Linked DNA regions of Homo sapiens: all the other regions are linked to region 1. The links are contacts of gene promoters, found by promoter capture Hi-C in blood cells and fetal thymus (Javierre and others, 2016). All regions are on one chromosome and are shown on one strand. The core of a region is centred on a gene start or on the middle of the fragment in contact, and the rest is flanking DNA. Distances in the headings are between cores, read along the strand shown. Region 1 holds the start of SURF4 (surfeit 4). Region 2 overlaps RALGDS (ral guanine nucleotide dissociation stimulator). Region 3 overlaps LOC105376306 (a long non-coding RNA gene).

Region 1 (2,973 bases), core at 474-2,973:
AATGTGCTTGAATCATCCCAAAACCATCCTCCCGCCTCCATCTGTGGAAAAATTGTCTTCCACAAAACTGGTCCCTTGTGCCAAAAAGGTTGGGGACTGCTATTTTTTTTTTTCTTTCTGAGACAGAGTTTTGCTCTTGTTGCCCAGGCTGGAGTCCAATGGCGCTATCTTGGCTCACCACAACCTCTGCCTCCTGGGTTCAAGCGATTCTCCAGCCTCAGCCTCCCGAGTAGCTGTGATTACAGGCATGCGCCACCACACCTGGCTAATTTTGTATTTTTAGTAGAGACAGTTTCTCCATGTTGGTCAGGCTGGTCTTGAACTCCCGATCTCAGGTGATCCGCCCGCCTTGGCCTCCCAAAGTGTTGGGGATTACAGGCGTGAGCCACCGAGCCCGGCCAGGGACTGCTGTTCTAAGCCACAGCGGGCTGAGGGCAGAGCTGGTGTGAGAGCGTTCAAGCTTAGGCAGCAAATTAAACAGTAAAATGGAGCCGTATCTCGAATCAAGTCTATTTTTTTTTCCAAAAGCAGGTATATTCCTGAAACGTCTATTTTTTTTTAATCTGAAAAACAACTTTACTTTAAAAATTATCTGGCCACCAGAAGCTCATCTGCTTCACCTCTGGCAACGCCCTATAGTCCTCTCACACAAAGACAATTCTTCCAAAGTGACAAAAATCTAACCCGCAAACTGTTTCCAAGCGAATGCATTTTTCACAAATGCTGAATCTAACATTTAATAAAGTGTATATATCATGTATAGAAGCATTTAATTAAACATTTACTTTTATTTTGCAGCTTTCCTTTTGTGTTTTGTGAATTTTTTAGGTCTCAAACATTTTCACAGACCCACGCTGCAGGGGTGTTTTTAGGGGACTGGGGGCTCCCAATTATGTACTCGGGATGTTCCCGGGGGTCCTGCCTCGGTGGACCCAAGCGCACAGACCCCAGGCACGAAGGATAGAGGAGCTGCCCCACGCCCTCAAATACTCAGCCAGGGCTGGAGAATCCTTAGTCAATTCACAAAGGGGGAAACTGAGTGGCAAAGGGCACCCAGGAGGTCACCGTTGGAGGCCCCCCGGGTTCAACCTAGGAGCTGCAGGCCGACACTGGCCAGGGCGCGGGCCCCTCGCCGCCCTCGGTCGGAACCGCCGGCCGTAGCTCCAGGGTTGCGACCGTTACCCCACGGAGCTCCCGCCTCCCCGCAGGGAACACTCGGCACCTGGTACTTCTCCATGGGCTCTCCGGGGGACCCTGGGCCTCGCTCCCCCTGCGTGGGGCGCCTGCGATTGGACCCTGGCCCAAGCATGATCAGTAGCGACCGCGTACGGGCGAGCGTCCACCCCTGGCCCCACCCCGCGTGGGTCAGTGGGACCCGCGGGATCCTCCCCGCCCGAACGGCGCCCTCGAGGCACTCAGGCGTCCCTCCCGCGCGCTGGCCCCAGACCCCCAGGTCCCCGCCCCCTTAAAAGGGACGCGTTCCGCCGGGCCGGGAGGGACCGCAGGGCCTGCGCGCGGCGGGCGGGGCCTCCAGCGTGAGAGGCGTGGCGTCGAGCGCGGCGGGCGTGGCTTCGAGCGGATGGGTCGGGAGGCTGGGGATGGCGCGTGGCCCCTTTAAGACGCACCGGGGCGGGCCCGGGCGGCGCGCGGCCCCTTTAAGGCTTGGCCTACGTGGCAGCCGCTGGAGCCGCAGCCGACGCGGAGCGAGGCCGGCCGCCGGGCACTTCCTGTGGAGGCCGCAGCGGGTGCGGGCGCCGACGGGCGAGAGCCAGCGAGCGAGCGAGCGAGCCGAGCCGAGCCTCCCGCCGTCGCCATGGGCCAGAACGACCTGATGGGCACGGCCGAGGACTTCGCCGACCAGGTGCGGCCTGCGGGCTCCTCCCCCGGCCCCGGTCCCGACCCAGGCCGCCCGGGCCGCTCCGGAGTCGGCCTCCCAGCGCAGGGCGCCAGGCCCGGGCCGCCCCCTGACTCCTTGTTCCCACAGGGGGACCCCCCCGCCCGGGCCCTCTGTCCCGGCTGGACAGCCCCAAACCCGGCCTCCGGGCCCAGTCTCCCCTGCCCGCTGGGCCGCTCCCGGAGCCCGGGCCTCGGCGCCCTGCCTGGCTAGCCGCCCCCACCCTCCAGCCAGCCCGGGGCGCGGGCTGTGGGGGTTTCTTCCCGGGCCGGCGGCGCGAGTCCTGGCGTTGGGTCGGGTCTGAGGCTCGCGGGGAGCGCCTCGGCGTTTGGAGCTGCTGGGGGGTCCCCGCACGTTTTTCCTCTCACTGGGGCTCCCGGAGGCGGGCTGGGAGCTCGGGGACGAACGGGGGCCGGGGGTCCTCCCAGAGGAAAGGGGGCGCGCTGGCGTGCGCCCCAGCTACAGGAAGCCACAGCACCTTTTCCTTTTCTCTTTCCCAGATGTGCTGGACTCTTGGGGTCCCTTTGACCCTGTCTGCGTCTCCCTCCCCGTTTGGACTCTGCCCTGGGCTGGATTGAGTGGGGACCTGTACACAGCCTGGGAGGAGGGGAAGCCTATCTCCCTGATAGTCTCCTTCCAGAAGTGTCCAGGTGGCATTCTGAGCAACAGGGAAGCCTTTGAAACAGGCGGTTGGGTAACTGTTGAGAGCATTCGGGAACTGGGTGGACAGGATCCGATCCTACAAAGTGAAGGGACACAACTCCCTTCCCTCTTTCTTGATTAAGCTTGACAGAACAAAAAAACAAAAACAAAAGGTGGTGGTGGTTACGCAGATTTATGCCTTTTACTTCTAAAAGAATCCCGTTATGTCGACAAATTAACAGCCTTATCCCCGCAGGGAGAGCCTTGTGTGGCCCACTTGCCGTTTTTTCCTCGGTTTACTTAATGTGTTCGTGTGGCTTTGCTAGAGTTTTAAGTAGTGATGGTTAAATTTTTAAATTTTTCTGGAGGTGGTAGTGAGTCATCAAACTCTGAGGCCTAGACTTATCGGAAGGCTTGTATATGTGTGGTTTAAAAAA
Region 2 (2,735 bases), core at 19-2,518, 260 kb after region 1:
TTAACTGGAAAGAGTGCCAACACCCTGAATCGGTAAGGACTGGGTAGGATTCAGAGAAGGGAGTGGTGTACCTGTGATGGATGGAGGGGAGGGTGACTAGGTGAGGGCGGGGGCTTGTTTCTCGTGTGCCCTGGGTCTCTGGGTGGTGCCATCTGCCTCCCACCTGACTGCTGCTGACTACACAGCAGAGGGAGTGGAATCCAGAGATGCCCCCCTCGCCCTGCTCTGCCTGGGCACAGGGCCTGCACAGAGGCCATTCCTGGATCGGGGGCTCAGGGCCCATCAGAGCTTTGGCTGGGCTGCAGCCTTCACAGTGAACCTCCTGAGTCCCCGTGCGGCATCGTGTTGCCTTGCTGCGTCTCCAGTCGCTTCATGGCTTTAGACTGTGGCGCGTTGTGATTGCTGGCGATTGTTAGCCTGAGTCTCGTGCCTCTTGGTGTCCCGGTACCTAGACAGGGCCTGGATGCGACTTGTTTCTCCGCCCAGTGTTGGGCAGAGCTCTTGGTGGGGGAACACCACACGCCTGAGAGACCCTTTCCTCCTGAGCTTGGCAGATGGCCGGACCAGACGTGTTCCCTCAACCCTCATCTATCCAGGGCTCTGGTCCTCATTGGCGGCTGGAGAGGGACCCCTGGGAGGGTGGGGGTGGGAGGCTGACACCAGCCCAGCGCTCATCTGGCTTTCATTACCTCTGGCAGCAGCTCGGGCTTTGTGTGCTGGGAGGGTCCGGCGGAGCGCTCACAGTGGCCGTGCAGGTTCCCTCTCTCCGTCCCTGAGGAACTGAGGGAGAGGCAGAGCTGAGCCCCACCCCTGCCTGGGGGTCTTGTCTTCCCTCTCTCTGGCCCTGGCGCTCCTTGCCCAGCCTCAGCACTGAGATCCAGACCTCGACTGCTATTTAGAAATCAAAGGGGAAGCTTCTGGCTGGGTCAGGAAAACCAGGATCCTGGCAGGAGAGGAGGCCACTGCCGGAAACTGAACACAATGACCATTTACCAAGGGCCCAAGGGAGGGGGCGGGGAAGTCCCTGTCCCTCCTGCCAACACCCCCCGTCCTGGGGCTGGTTTCCTGGTGTCTATGTGGCCTGCCAGAGCTGACGCTGCGCACTTGGTCCCTGTCCTCTCTGGAAACCACCAGACAGTTTCTGCCTTCCCCCGCATCCCTGTTTCCCTACCTAGCTTCCACCCGGTGCTTCCCTCTGGGCTGCCAGATCTCCTCACATCTGGGCTTCCGCTTATCTTCCCGATTCTAAGCCAAGCCACCAATGACCCAGCTTGGCCTGCACAGTTCTTGCTTTCTGGAGGTGACCTGGTCCGTGCCCCCATCTCTGGACAGGCTGTTGCTTTGGCCAGACAAAAAGTGCAGGTTGTGGGCCACCCCCTCACTTCATCTGCCTTAGACCAACCCTACAGAGTAGGTGCCAACACCACCTTCTAGGAAGCTAGGGGGTCAGAGAAGGGAAGTCTCTGACCTAAACACCCGTGCAGCCAGCAAGGGCCGCAGCCAGGATTTAAGCATGGGCTGTGTTCTCTGTGGCACCTACTGTGTGCAGGAGCCACCAGGAGTCAGAGGAAGCCCAGGCAGCCCAGAAGCCCTGAGGTCAGGTGAGCAGTAGGGAAGCTTATGGCTCAGAGGAAGGCAAAAGTGCTTTGGGCCACAGGACGCTGGGGAGAGCTACCTGGAGGAAGCAAGCCCAGAACTGGACCCCACAGGTTTAAGATAACAGCTAATAAGAGCCAGCAGGTTTTGGGGAGGTCCTTGGCTAAGTAATTTGCATCATCTCCTTTTGGGGTCAAGACTGTTAAGAGCTCACTTGACAGATAAAGTCACTGAGGCAACAGAGGTGAATTAGATTGCACAGAGTGACCAAGCTGGTCAGTGGCAGGGCCAGGATTCTGACCCAAGGCCTGAGGGCAGTTGCAGGTGGGCTGGAGTGAAGAGGGCTTCTCTGTATTCACAGGGAGCATCTCCCTTCAGCCTCCCGCGTCTTCCCACTGTTTGATCTCTTGATCACACTGTGTGCAGGTCTTCGGTTTAATCCCCAGGGCTCATGAGCACTTTGACACTGAAGACCCCAAGGCAAAGGGCCTGTCCCTGTGTGGGTGTGTGTCCCTGCATGCATGTGTACAGACTGTGGTCTTCCAGGAGAGCTTCCTGGGTGACTCTGAAGGGGCAGCCCCCAGGACCCTCAGGTTCCCCTCTTGCTCTACTCGGGAGGGTCCCCCAGAAGAGGGGGACCAGGCTGGCTGGTCCTGGGTCTTTGTTCCTTCTCCAGGCGGGGGATGCTCAGGCATGCTGGCCTGTTTCCCGGGAGGCTCAGGAATGGCCCTGGGAGATATCAAGCTGCTCGTTGCCAGAGCTGGGGTCTGATTCTTAACCTGGAAATTGGGCATTTCCAGGACCTGTCTGCGTTGCCAATGAGAAAAGAGTGGGGAGATTTATCACTGGCCCTCTGCAGGCAGGCTCTGAACGAGCCAGTGGAGCGGTTTCAGGAAGCTGCACCCAGGCAGTCAAGGACTGGTTCCCAAGAGCTGCTGGTTGGCCGCCCAGATGGCTCCCATGGCGTGGTGCCACCATGCTGTGGCCACCCAGTCCCAGGGTTGGACTTCCAGCCTTGCAGGCCCAGAATCACTGTGTTCCCAGATATACAGCAACAGCAGAGCAGTGTTCCCCATTTGATTGTTAAGGGGCAGACACTGATGCATGCAGCCTCATGCAGGACAAGCTGAGCTTTGAGC
Region 3 (2,714 bases), core at 181-2,680, 350 kb after region 1:
CAGGAGGATCCTTTGAGCCCTGGAGTTGGAGGCTGCAGTGAGCTATGATCATGCCACTTGCATTACAGCTAGAAATTAGTAAGAGCAAGTGACCCCTTGGGTATGGGTACCCCGTTTCTGAAGTGATTTTTTTTTTTGAAAGACACGATCTCCCTCTGTCACCCAGGCTGGAGTGTAGTGGTGTGATCATGGCTCACTGCAGCCCCGAACTCCTGGGCTCAAGTGATCCTCCTGCCTCAGCCTCCTGAGTAGTTGGGACTACAGGCGTGCACCACCATACCCGACTAATTTTGTATTTGTGTGTGTGTGGCGACGGGGTCTCACTATGTTGCCTAAAGTCATTTCTTTTTGTTGTTTGTTTGTTTTGAGACAGAGCCTCACTCTGTCACCAGGCTGGAATGCAGTAGCACAATCTCGGCTCACTGCAACCTCCGACTCCCTGGTATAAGCGATTCTCCTGCCTCAAACTCCCGGGTAGCTGGGATTATAGGCATGCGCCACCACGCCCAGCTAATTTTTGTATTTTTAGTAGAGATGGGGTTTCACCATGTTGGCCAGGATGGTCTCGATCTCCTGACATCATGATCTGCCCACCTCGGCCTCCCAAAATGCTGAGATTACAGGCGTGAGCCACCGTGCCCAGCCTGTGATTTCTTAATCAGAAGAGTACCTGATTGCTCTCCTTGGGTTTAAGAAGGCAGAATAAATAGCTACATGAATTCAGCCCACTGAATACATTCTAAAGTGTAACCTCAATGTGAAATATATTGTATTGTAATTGGAAGGCTGGGTCAGGAGCCCCAAAGCTTTGAAAGAACACCTCCTGAGAGTACAGTGGGAAATCAACCACCAGCAGATGATGGTTGAGCTAGAAGAACCACGTGTTTCCACAGGGAGCTGCACACGAGGACCCGGTGGTCCCTGACCTGCCCTCTCCAGGGGGGACCTGCACTTTCTGCCACCAAAGAGGATTCTCTGTAGGGAGGCCAGGATGATTCTCCAGAATTTACCATGCCTTGAGATGAAATTTCCTTTCAAACTTCCTTGTGTCCTTTTGTCCTCATTCCATGTTCACCAGTCTTCTGACTGTTTCATTTTCCAGAAAGGAGAAACTGAATAACATGTATATTTTAACCTTGCCTGCAATTGTAAATCAATAAATTGGTGTATTTACATCAGATCCCTGTGAGTTTGGTGCACATAAGACAGTCATGAAGACTTGGTCACTGTTGGTAGAGTTGGCCAATAAAATATTGAACACAGTTAAATTTGAATTCATGCAATATTTGGGGCATATTTATACTAAATATGTGTTATCTGAGATTCATATTTAGCTAGGTGATTTTTTAATTTGCTAAATATGGCACTCCCACCTCCGGGTATTGAGATTGAGTTTCTGAATTTGGAAAGCTGATTCCAAACCACCTGGAACCTTAGTGAGCCCACCATGCAATCCAGTGACCCTCTAGTTTGTCTGCTGTATTTTTCCTCCTTACTGAAGCAAGAGTGATCTTTCCAGAATGAGATCGCAGTCTGTCCCTGCCTCCAGTGACTCCCCAGCATCCCTGGCCCACCACCTGGCTAACTACTCCTCTCCTTTAGGTTGTTGCCTTAGACTTCAATTTGCCTGGTAAATCCTCCCTGACCCCAAAACACTAGTTTGGTGCCATCCTCGCTGCCCGGGGCCCCAAACCCACTGCATCATGGAGCCGGAAGCACTATTATTTTTTTTCTTTTTTACTTCTCCACTTGAGTGGCAACTTTCTGAAGACAGGGACCATGTCTGTCTTATTCACCACTGTCTTCCCACTGTCACCACTGCTTTGCATGGGGCTGAGCACCGAGCAGGTGCTCAGGAAGTATTTATTGAACAACTGAATGAGGCCACTTGTCTTATTTGAGCCTTCAATCGAGCCCCGGGTCAGGGCATGGTCATAGGGACACTAAATCAAGGCTTGTCAGACAAGGAGTGTCCCTTAGTGCACAGGAAGTGAGGAGGGGCTGAGTGTGAGGGGAAGACAAGGGACCAACCCCAGGGCATCAGACCAAGCTTTTTGAGATTAGACTTGGTCCTGCCTGAGATCCAAAGCGGGAGGTCAGAGGCAGGAGCAGTAAGGCAAGGCTGGGAGCAGAGACAGGCCAAGAAAGATCAGGAACCCAGTTAAAAAGTAGCTTTGGCTGGGAGCGGTGGCTCATGCCTGTAATCCCAGCACTTTGGGAGGCTAAGGCGGGTGGATCACTTGAGGTCAGGAGTTCGAGACCAGCCTGGCCAACATAGTGAAACCCCATCTCTACTAAAAATACAAAAATTAGCCACATGTGGTAGCACATGCCTGTAATCTCAGCTACTCGGGAGGCTGAGGCAGGAGTCTCGCTTGATCCCAGGAGGCAGAGGTTGCAGTGTGCAGAGATCATGCCACTGCACTCCAGCCTGAGTGACAGAGTGAGACTCCATCTCAAAAAAAAAAAAAAAAAAAAAAAAAGAAGTAGCTTTAACGTTCTCCAAAACCTTGCAGCATTCAGAGCAGGCAGCTGTGACAATATTTGTGCACTGAGGGGACACTTTCTCTGCCTGGATTCAGGGCATATGCTATGGTTTGAAAATGTCCCCCAAATTTCATGTGTTGGAAACTTAATTTGTCTGCCCTCATGAATAAATTAATGTTGGCTCTGCCCTCATGCATGGATTAATGTCGCTGTTGTGGGAGTGAGTT

Evidence for each region. Contacts are between HindIII fragments. The CHiCAGO score rates a contact against its expected background, and 5 or more counts as called.
Region 2: a contact is called between a fragment that was not itself captured here and the fragment with the promoter of SURF4 in region 1, in 2 of 17 cell types (activated CD4 T cells and naive CD8 T cells). The highest score is 6.4, in activated CD4 T cells.
Region 3: a contact is called between a fragment that was not itself captured here and the fragment with the promoter of SURF4 in region 1, in 2 of 17 cell types (naive CD8 T cells and total CD8 T cells). The highest score is 5.7, in naive CD8 T cells.

What each region holds. Positions count from the first base shown.
Region 1 is chr9:133,374,810-133,377,782 of GRCh38, reverse strand. SURF4 (surfeit 4) reads left to right here and starts at 1,723. Exons shown (of 6, transcript NM_033161.4): 1 at 1,723-1,861. The coding sequence starts at 1,814. STKLD1 (serine/threonine kinase like domain containing 1) reads right to left here and starts at 1,417. Exons shown (of 18, transcript NM_153710.5): 1 at 1,223-1,417. The coding sequence starts at 1,309. RefSeq lists silencers at 1,179-1,678, 1,769-2,008, 2,019-2,298. The HindIII fragment of the contact is 2,219 bases long and covers 463-2,681 here.
Region 2 is chr9:133,117,587-133,120,321 of GRCh38, reverse strand. The region is part of intron 1 of RALGDS (ral guanine nucleotide dissociation stimulator); the gene reads left to right. Among named protein-coding and RNA genes, the nearest start is that of RALGDS, 2.3 kb to the left of the region's middle. RefSeq lists an enhancer at 1-178. The HindIII fragment of the contact is 703 bases long and covers 917-1,619 here.
Region 3 is chr9:133,026,611-133,029,324 of GRCh38, reverse strand. It overlaps LOC105376306 (a long non-coding RNA gene), which reads left to right. Exons shown (of 2, transcript NR_135119.1): 2 at 894-1,173. Among named protein-coding and RNA genes, the nearest start is that of GTF3C5, 3.0 kb to the left of the region's middle. The HindIII fragment of the contact is 1,244 bases long and covers 809-2,052 here.